Regions from separate parts of the Homo sapiens genome. Here regions 2 and 3 are each linked to region 1. Evidence: promoter capture Hi-C in human tissues and cell types (Jung and others, 2019). All regions are on one chromosome and are shown on one strand. The core of a region is centred on a gene start or on the middle of the fragment in contact, and the rest is flanking DNA. Distances in the headings are between cores, read along the strand shown. Region 1 holds the start of RNF130 (ring finger protein 130). Region 2 holds the start of TRIM52 (tripartite motif containing 52). Region 3 overlaps COL23A1 (collagen type XXIII alpha 1 chain).

What was found. The method cuts DNA at HindIII sites, captures the fragments that hold promoters and counts their contacts. A contact is called where the count stands out against the background at its distance.
Region 2: the fragment with the promoter of TRIM52 here is called in contact with the fragment with the promoter of RNF130 in region 1 in 1 of the 25 tissues and cell types used here (heart left ventricle).
Region 3: a contact is called between a fragment that was not itself captured here and the fragment with the promoter of RNF130 in region 1, in 1 of the 25 tissues and cell types used here (lymphoblastoid cells).

What each region holds. Positions count from the first base shown.
Region 1 is chr5:180,070,295-180,073,624 of GRCh38, reverse strand. It overlaps RNF130 (ring finger protein 130), which reads left to right and starts at 1,866. Exons shown (of 9, transcript NM_018434.6): 1 at 1,866-2,169. The coding sequence starts at 1,923. RefSeq lists a silencer at 1,516-1,595 and an enhancer at 1,485-2,192. The HindIII fragment of the contact is 8,378 bases long and covers 1-3,330 here.
Region 2 is chr5:181,259,796-181,262,683 of GRCh38, reverse strand. TRIM52 (tripartite motif containing 52) reads left to right here and starts at 1,541. Exons shown (of 2, transcript NM_001346048.2): 1 at 1,541-2,683. The coding sequence starts at 1,871. TRIM52-AS1 (TRIM52 antisense RNA 1) reads right to left here and starts at 1,472. Exons shown (of 3, transcript NR_102762.1): 1 at 1,300-1,472. RefSeq lists silencers at 911-1,160, 1,271-1,420 and enhancers at 1,561-1,610, 1,791-1,840. The HindIII fragment of the contact is 18,434 bases long and covers 1-2,888 here.
Region 3 is chr5:178,271,676-178,274,972 of GRCh38, reverse strand. All of the region lies in intron 5 of COL23A1 (collagen type XXIII alpha 1 chain), which reads left to right. Among named protein-coding and RNA genes, the nearest start is that of PHYKPL, 41 kb to the right of the region's middle. The HindIII fragment of the contact is 7,558 bases long and covers 1-3,297 here.

The DNA of each region.
Region 1 (3,330 bases), core at 617-3,116:
GGGAAATGGAGGGAGAAATTGTAAAGGATGTCTGCCAAGTCATCAATAGTGGACATCTGTTTTCTTTCTTTTTTCTTTTTCTGAGACGGAGTCTTGCTCTGTCGCCCAGGCTGGAGTGCAGTGGCTCGATCTCTGCTCACTGCAACCTCCGCTTCCCGGGTTCCAACGATTCTCCTGCCTCAGCCTCCCGAGTAGCTGGGACTACAGGCACGCATCACCACGACTAATTTTTTTATTTTTAGTAGAGACGGGGTTTCACCATGTTGGCCAAGCTGGTCTCGAACTCCTGACCTCGTGATCCGCCCACCTAGGCCTCCCAAAGTGCTGCGATTACGGGCGTGAGCCACCGCGCCTGGCCAGTGGTGGGCATCTTAAGTTTTAGCCTGCACTGCATCCGTACCCTTTCCTGGAAACAGTGCCTCAAATTTCTTTTTGGGGAGCCACCTCTTTTCCGGATTTTCAGAACATTTGGTTGTGCAAAGCTGACTCCACCCACTTCCCGCAGTAGGAGACAGGAGACTCAACCCTGGCTGGTCAGAAGACGCCAAACTTTCCCCCTCCGCCTCCCCACAAAGATCCTGTAAGTTCCTGAATTCGGCTGCACTGCCCCATTCTTCCTTTTAGCTGATACTTTATAGCGATGTGTATCTTTTAAACGCCATGGAGAGAGAAAATGAGAGTCGTGTGTGTGTGCGCGCGCGCGCGTTTCGGAAGGTGGAGGGGGGGTTCCCACTGCAACCCTCTGGTCCGGGGGCCCCTGGAGTAGTTCACCTAGTCACTAGAGCAGGGGCTCCCCAACCGCCCGGCCGCGGACCTGTACCGGCCCAGGGCCTTCGAGGAACCAGTAAGCGAGCAGGAGGTGAGTGAGCATCACCGCCTGAGCTCCGCCTCCTGTCAGATCAGGGCGGCATTAGACTCTCATAGCAACGTGAACCCGGCTGTGAACTGCGCATGCTTGGGACCTAGGTTGCCCACTTCTTACGAGAATCTAACGCCTGATGATCTGAGGTGGAGCAGCCTCATCCGGAAACCACTTCAACTCCCTCAGTCCCTGGAAAAACTCTCTTCCTGGAAACCCGTCCCCCAGTGCCAAAATGGTTAGGGACGGCTACCCTAGAGGTCTTTCCCAACCACTCGTGTCCCTGCAGGTCCGGGCCAGAGACATCCCCCATCCATGATGTCAACCGCATGACGTGAATGTTAAATCTCATGACATTTAATTTTAAACATTTCTTTTAAAGTTATGGCTTTTTTTCCTTTGTAGTCTGTTCTCACACATTTCCATACGTCCTCGCAAATCTCCCGGGCTCCACGCCCTGCGGCTATCACGCCTGACAGAGAAACAACCAGCACCAGCGGCTGACCCGGCTGCCCGGGCCCTCGTGCAGGCGGGCGGGAGCGGACAGGCCCTGGCACGCATGCGCTCGGGGCGGGACTGCGCCTTAGGCCTGCGCGTTGCCGCTAGACCAGCGGGGGGGCGGGGCGGCGGCGGACACGCGCCTCAGGCGGCAGCCGCGCGAGAGGGACTTTGTGTTCCGCTGACCCTCCTCGGGGCGCTTCCTCCCGTGCCGCCCTTCCCCTCCCCCGCCGCGTCCTTGCGAGGCGCCTCCCATTCGGTGGGACCGACCCGGGGGGATGGAGGGGGCACGCTTCTACAACCCTCCTGGGACCCCGAAGAGACGCCCGCGTGCGACCTGAGACGCCGCCCTCGCCGAGGGCCCATGGGCGCGTCCCCACAGGCGGGCAGTGGACGTGAGGGCGGCGAGCGGCGGGGCCGCGGCGTCCAGGAGGGCCGCGCTCGGGCTCGGCCCCGCGCAGGCCGCGCGCGCGCGCTCCCGCCGCCGCCCGGGCCGCGCCCGCCCCGCCTCTAGGCGCCGGCCCCGGAGCCCGGTCCGCGAGCAGCGGCGGCTGCCGGAGGGACGATGAGCTGCGCGGGGCGGGCGGGCCCTGCCCGGCTCGCCGCGCTCGCCCTGCTGACCTGCAGCCTGTGGCCGGCACGGGCAGACAACGCGAGCCAGGAGTACTACACGGCGCTCATCAACGTGACGGTGCAGGAGCCCGGCCGCGGCGCCCCGCTCACGTTTCGCATCGACCGCGGGCGCTACGGGCTTGACTCCCCCAAGGCCGAGGTCCGCGGCCAGGTGCTGGCGCCGCTGCCCCTCCACGGAGGTGAGTGCCGGCCCGGGGGCGGCGGGCGGTGGTCGCTGCATCCCGCGTAGGCGGCGGGACTAGGGTTCCCGGCCCCGGCTCTGGCCCTGGCTCTCCCGCGCTGCCCGGCCGACAGCCCCAGCCAGGGTCGAGGCTTCCGTCGTGGACAGCCCGGCCTGCTCCCGTGGGAACCAGGCTCCAGGAGCGTGACTGGGTTTTTCCCTTCTTTTAAAAAAGACTTGGAACGGTCATCTTTGCGTTCAGGCAGCTCGTTTGCTGGAGGGCATTGAGCTAGGAGTTTGCAGGGACAGCGTAGACAAAGGAGGTGGTGCAAGAGCGCAAAACTACTTCATGGGGAGGACGTCTCAGCCTGTATTTTGGAAGCGGCAGGTTCCTCAAATCACGGACTTAAGGCTGCGCTAGATCTGGAAGGATGCGGCCCTTTTCTAATATAAAAACGTGCCGTTTTTCTTAAGTGGTAAATTGGGGGGGGGGTGTAAATGGAAAATGGACATCTTCCCTGTTGCTTTTGGCTCTTGTTCTTGCCCTAGTAGTTTTACTGTAATTTGACGCCTGAAAATGTCACATTATGAGGATCTGACACTAATCGGAACTACTAGCCAAGGCTTTTCAGGTCACGGGTGCCGACCAAAAGGGAAATAGGTAAAATTTTCAAGAATTGTCTTTGAAACCATTCGGCTTAATGTCATGTTTTCCTATGAACAAGGACTTTGTTTAGTTGATTATTTGGTGTAAACATGTATTTGTTTAAATTATTAGTCATGGTTTGAAAGAAACCTTTTGCACATCGTGGAATATGATTTTTTGGGTTTTGGCCCACGCTGAACTTTTGGGAGATATCTGCCATTATCCCCACCCTCATTGTCACCCTGAGAATGCTGAGAGGGGATTTTTCTTTTCTAAACTGCTGTTCATGTTAGGATGACCTAAAGTAGGCAACCTAAATAAAGTCATGATTTGCTTGTACACTCTTAAGATACTAACATATTATGCCCCTCTGAGGTCTGTATTTGTATGCCAAAGTGCTAAGCTGTTTTCTTCTTTGAGACAGTCTGGCTGGGGAAAAATAATCACATAAGGCTTTTACTGTAGCCTGTCCGCAACTCAGACTAGGCTTTGAAAAGTCCGTTTTACACCAGTAATCAGGTGCTTAAGGTGCAT
Region 2 (2,888 bases), core at 292-2,791, 1.2 Mb before region 1:
ATACACAGAGCCCATGAGCACCAGCCCCTCTGAGCTGCGTCCAGCCCCCATCTCCATCCTCTGTTCTCTGGGACTACAAATCCAGGCCTGACCTGGTTCTATCCCTACCTGCAGAGACAGAAGACAGAAGGAGACAACCCCTGAGAAGCCTTTCCCCAGGGCCTGATTCCCCCTCCCACTGTAAGATCTCTCAGCCCGCACTTTGGGAGGCCGAGGTGGGCGGATCACGAGGTCAGGAAATCGAGACCATCCTGGCTAACAGGGTGAAACCCCGTTTCTACTAAAAATACAAAAAAAAAAAAATTAGCCGGGCGTGGTGGCGGGCGCCTGTAGTCCCAGCTACTCGGGAGGCTGAGGCAGGAGAGTGGCGTGAACCTGGGAGGCGGAGCTTGCAGTGAGCCGAGATCGCGCCACTGCACTGCATCCTGGGCAACAGCCAGACTCCATCTCAAAAAAAAAAAAAAAAAAAAAAACCTCTCAGCCCTGGATCAGGTCCCCTCTCCAGGAAAGGTGACAGAGTGGAGTCTAAATGACACTGCCCTAGGGCCCCGCTGGGGTGGAAAACAGACCCAGACAGCGCCCCCAGCCCTCCCTCCCCAGGGAGGAGTGAAGGGCATAACAGACAGCGGAGGACACCGGGACAGGAAGGAGGGGCCAGCCGCTCTCAAACTAAGTCTAAACCACGGCGGTGAGGAAGTGTGGTCCCAAATCCAGCCCCCTCCCGGCCGAGCTCACAGAGCTCAGGGCTGGAACTCGGAACCCTGGCCCGACGCAGGCGGCAGCACCGAAGGGAACTTGAGCCCCGGCCCCCTCAGGGGACCCACGACCGGGGCGCAGCTTTGCTGGCAGACGCCGCAATACTGCGCAGCCGCGGCCCCGCAAGCAGAAACAGGGCTGGGTCTGAGGCCTACGTGGAGCTGGGGCCCGACGGCTCACGGAAGGCAGCGGGGGGCACTGGGCGCCCCGGATCCGAGCCTCCCGGGCGGCAGGCCCTCCCAGCTGTGCGGCGCCCGGATCCCCACAAAGGCACCCCAAGCGCGGACGGCGGGACGGGCGACAGCACCAGGGTGGTGTCCCAGGCTTCCCCACCGCCGCGGACCAACTCGGCCCCGGCCCGGGCGGGGCTTCCGGAGAGATTTATCCCCCTTCCCTCTAACCTTCCTGGGGCTCCGGCTCAGGCTGGACAACGGCTCGGAGACCCAGTCCCCCTCAAGTGTTGACCCCCCCACCATCTAGAACCAGCCAACCCACCAAACCACCTCTCCCAAGCCGGGCCTCTTCCCGGCGTCCGCCGCTGACCTGATCAGAGCCGCTCTGCCGGCCCGAGGGAGCTGAGAAGGGGCTTGGGAATGGGGTCTTGAGGAGGGGCTGGCCGGAATGTGCAGCACTAGCCCAGCTGGAGCGGGCGGCGCGGGCGCGCCTGTCCCCCAGCCCACCCAACTCCCGGCCCGCGCGGCCCCCGGCACACCATAGAGACGTGGTCCTCCGCCGGCCTAGAGCGTCTCTCCAGAGCGTGTGCAGGAGCGAGACGTCATTTTGCGTCGCCTCGGGCAGGGTAGCCAGCGGCTGCATCTGAGGCGGACGCCGCAGTGTAGGGCACACCCTGAGGGTAGCGAGAGACGTGACAGGACCGAGCAGCTGGGGGCTGCAGCCTGCTCTGTCCCCACCGATCCCAGAGAGAGGCTGTGAGTCTGGATCTGGGCGTTCGCACCCTGAGAGAGGGGGTCAAAGCTCCCCTGCGGCCCCGAGGAAGAAGAGCAAGGTTGAGGACAGCCTCGGGTCACCAGAGTAGTTTGGAGGCAGGCCTGCAGGCGCGTCCCCGCTCCTCAGCTCCAAGCTGACGTATCTACACCTGCCGGCGGGCATTAAGATGGCTGGTTATGCCACTACTCCCAGCCCCATGCAGACCCTTCAGGAGGAAGCGGTGTGTGCCATCTGCTTGGATTACTTCAAGGACCCCGTGTCCATCAGCTGTGGGCACAACTTCTGCCGAGGGTGTGTGACCCAGCTGTGGAGTAAGGAGGACGAGGAGGACCAGAACGAGGAGGAAGATGAATGGGAGGAGGAGGAGGACGAGGAAGCGGTGGGGGCCATGGATGGATGGGACGGCTCCATTCGAGAGGTGTTGTATCGGGGGAATGCTGACGAAGAGTTGTTCCAAGACCAAGATGACGATGAACTCTGGCTCGGTGACAGTGGTATAACTAATTGGGACAACGTAGACTATATGTGGGACGAGGAGGAAGAAGAAGAAGAGGAAGATCAGGACTATTACCTAGGAGGCTTGAGACCTGACCTGAGAATTGATGTCTACCGAGAAGAAGAAATACTGGAAGCATACGATGAGGACGAAGATGAAGAGCTGTATCCTGACATCCACCCGCCTCCTTCCTTGCCCCTTCCAGGGCAGTTCACCTGCCCCCAGTGCCGAAAGAGCTTTACACGTCGCAGCTTTCGTCCCAACTTGCAGCTGGCCAACATGGTCCAGATAATTCGCCAGATGTGCCCCACTCCTTATCGGGGAAACCGGAGTAATGATCAGGGCATGTGCTTTAAACACCAGGAAGCCCTGAAACTCTTCTGTGAGGTGGACAAAGAGGCCATCTGTGTGGTGTGCCGAGAATCCAGGAGCCACAAACAGCACAGCGTGCTGCCTTTGGAGGAGGTGGTGCAGGAGTACCAGGTGAGAGAAATGAGGGAATGTGGGGGGATGAAGGGAGTGGAAAGGTAACTAGGAGAGCTGAGGAATGAGTAGCATTCCTTTCCCACCTCCTCAGGTACTTAGTTGCTAAACTTCTCTTTATTTGATGAGGGAGACACGGTGGAGAGAGATGGTCATATGGGTAAAAAAGGAGACACAAAACCATGAAGATTGGGGCAGATTGGCT
Region 3 (3,297 bases), core at 188-2,687, 1.8 Mb after region 1:
CGGCTGATCTCCATGGGGAAAGAGTGATTTAAAGCAGAACCAAGGCTTGTAAACAGCTGTGGGGTTTCTCAGAGGGCAGAAGGCGTTGAAAACCTCTGGTGGATTCAAGGGCTTTGATCAGGCAGGGGAGCGAGCTGGACAGTCATGAGCATCTCCAGGCACAGTGCTGTGGCATCCATAGATGAGGAAGCTGAGGCTCAGAGGAGGGATTTGAACCTGGGCCCTGCAAGGCTGAGCCCTGGCCTTCGCTCTGTGAGCTGGTGGTAAACCTCCCCGAGCTACTTTCCTTCCCACTCCTTCTGTGGGAGATGCTGGGAGAGGAACGGGGCAGCTGATGGCCGGTGCCCTATTGTCTGGGGCAGGGGAGGGCTGCCTAGATAGGGGAGACCCCCCCCACACCCAGCCAACCACCACCCAAGGCATGCCCCCGCCCAGTCTGGGGCTCTGCCCTTCCAGACCGCCCAGCTGCTCAGAACAGCCCTCATTCTCCTCAGAAGGACTTCCCTCGGGCTTAGACACTTGGACACTTGCCCTGCCATGCCTCTGTCCAGCCTGACCACGCCCCCCACCCCATGCATTCCTTGGCTCCATTCAGACCAGCCCCAGGCCCTTCCCTGAGGCGCTTGTCCTCCTCTCAAGAGCACCCAGAGCCAGGCTCAGCCCCCACTCCACCAGTAGAAACACCTGGTTTGTAGATGGTCTGCACAGCCTCACGCCTCAGTTGCTTTGCGTGACTCAGCCAGGCACTGAGTGCATTGAGGCTGAGTCCACTGAGCCCATTGCAGGGGTGGAAGGAGCACTGTCCTTTCAAAGACCCACAAACTAAAATGACGGCTCAGACAGCCCTGCAGGAAAGAAACCTGTTCCGCAGAGTGTAACCCAGTGTTTCTCAGACTTACTCAACCGTGGAATCCCTGTCTCCAGGCAAGCCTGTTGGCACCCTGCAGGGCAGTGTGCTGTGGGACACCAGTTTGGGAAAGGCATTCTGTAGGGTAACTGTGGGCAGGGTCCATCCCCTGGAGGTTCACAGCCCAGGGTCCTCCGGCCCAGAGGGCTGGCCCAACTTCCCCAGGACAGGAGGGGAGGTCAGAATCACATCCCCAAGCCAGGTAGGTGCATCTGACTCCAAAGCCAGGCTGTTCCTTCCCGGCCCACCTCGGAGTCCCCTCCTCAGTGACCATACCCACCCAGCAGCTTCTCCAAGGTCAGCCACTGCCCCACACAGAAAGCTCGGGGGCCTGGGGACAGCTTTCTTGCCCAGGTGTCATCCTGGCTGTGGGTCGGCTCTGTCCCAGGGGCTGGCCCAGCCCCGTCTGCTGTGTCAGTTTTCACACAGGGAGCTTCAGTGCCGGTGCAGGCACAGGCTCGGCTTCCGAGAATTGGACTTGACTTCCCTTCAGCCCTTGGTGGGGGCTCCCGGGAGCACTGCGCACACTGCACCCTCTGCCTCTATTGGGAAGCTACACACTGAATTCACTTGTAAAAACTCCCAGAGCTCTCTGATCACAAATACAGGCAGGGCGTTTGGTGTAAAAATTGGTTTTCTGTCACGGACGGGGCTTCTCACACATCAGAAAGAAGCCTCGGGGACCAAAGGCTGCGCCATCAGTGACCCCCCAGGAACAGTCCTAGCTTGACAGAGGGCAGCGTCCAGCTCAGGAGGCAGGAGGCCTGCAGCCATAATAAGGTCCAGTCGGTGGACACTTCCAGAAACAGCCGGCAGCACTGAGATGCTCCCTCTGGGGTTGAGGCCAAGGGGACAGCCTGGGCTCCCTTCCACGGGCACTTCTAGAAAGGCAGAGCCCTGTGGCTCTGCGTGCTTCACATCCAGGGGGCCTTGGTTGCAGGGAGGATTTAACAGAGGTTTCCGAGGCCTAGAGCAGGAGAGAGCGGCCGGGAGGCCAGACAGCACCGCGGCACGGGCCTGCAGTGCAGACAGGATGGAGACCCAGGGCCCAGACCTCTCCAGCTGCATGGCCCTAGGCAAGGTCTTCCCCTCACTGGGCCTCAGTTTCCTTCTCCGTAAGATGGGGATGATGACACGTACCTTACAGGGTTGCTGTGTGACTGAGACTGAGTGGGGGCCACGAAGAGCTCCTTGAAGAGACCCAGGAAGGACTGGCGGCCATGTGTGTGGGGTCAGGCCTGGGGGAAGGGTCCAAGGTGGGGATGCCTAGTGGGACGCGACCTTGAGGACACCCAGCAGGGCTTGGGTCGGGGGGTAGGGGGACAAGGGGCAGGGCCAAATTTAGTGTACTACCGAGGGCAGAAGGCCTGGGGGTGTGGACCCCAGGATCAGGACAGCCGGGAACTGGCAAGAGGACACTGTCCAGCTAGGGCAGCTCCTGGGAGGCTCATGGCAAGGACTAGAACTATGCCTGTGATGGAGGCTGAGGCCCTGACCCGGGGCCCCCAGGGCCTGAATCCCCAAGACTTTGGAATGCCCCCACTCCCACTCTCCTGGGACCCCAGCTGTCACCAGGCCATCACTCTGATGGCCAAACCCTCAGCGACCATGAGACTGGTGGCCAGAAGCCCTTTGACACCAATTTTTAGAACTGCCTGGTTTCCTGCTGCCAGCAAGGCCCTGGCCGCGAGCCCCACGTGGAGTGGCCACTCTCACACCGTCTGGGAATGGGCAGATGGGCCATCTCCATACGAGGCAGTCTGGAGGTTGAGCCAGGGAAGCCAGCAGCTTACCTCCTACCTGGCAGGCACGAGGCCAGCTCCCAGCTGTGTCCAGAACCAGAGGCCAGGAAAGTCTTCCCAGAGCAGGAGGCTGTCCCGGGGGACGAGCTGCCTCTTACCAGCTGGAAACGCAGGGAAGGCACTCCAGGCAGAGGGAACAGAGAGCCGAGGGATGAGGATGGAAAGGAAGCCAGAGAGCTCGGGACGGACAGGGGTGCAGAGTGACCAAATGGCTGAAGCTGGCCCTAACCACAGAGGACCCTGATGCTGGGCCTGGGAGTCCGTCCTCAGCCAGCGGAAGCCCAGAGAGGCAGGGACAGCCTGAGCGAAGGCTGCGTGAAGGCCACCGGTCAGGGGCCTATGAGAGGCACTGAGGTTAGTGCAGCCCCTCTGCTCCTCCACCACCTACAGGGTCCCCCATCCCGCCTTGGCCAGGCTGCTCTCTTTTGCTTACAGGGCCCTCCCCGCCCCCACACACACACTTGTTAGGTCCAAATACCCCAACGTTACTGTCGCCACAATGCGCCCTGCCGGCTAGGAGCTGGCAGAGCCTCTACCTCTCCACCTCTCCGCCTTCCCTTTCTACTGTGCAGTGCGTGCATTTGCAGC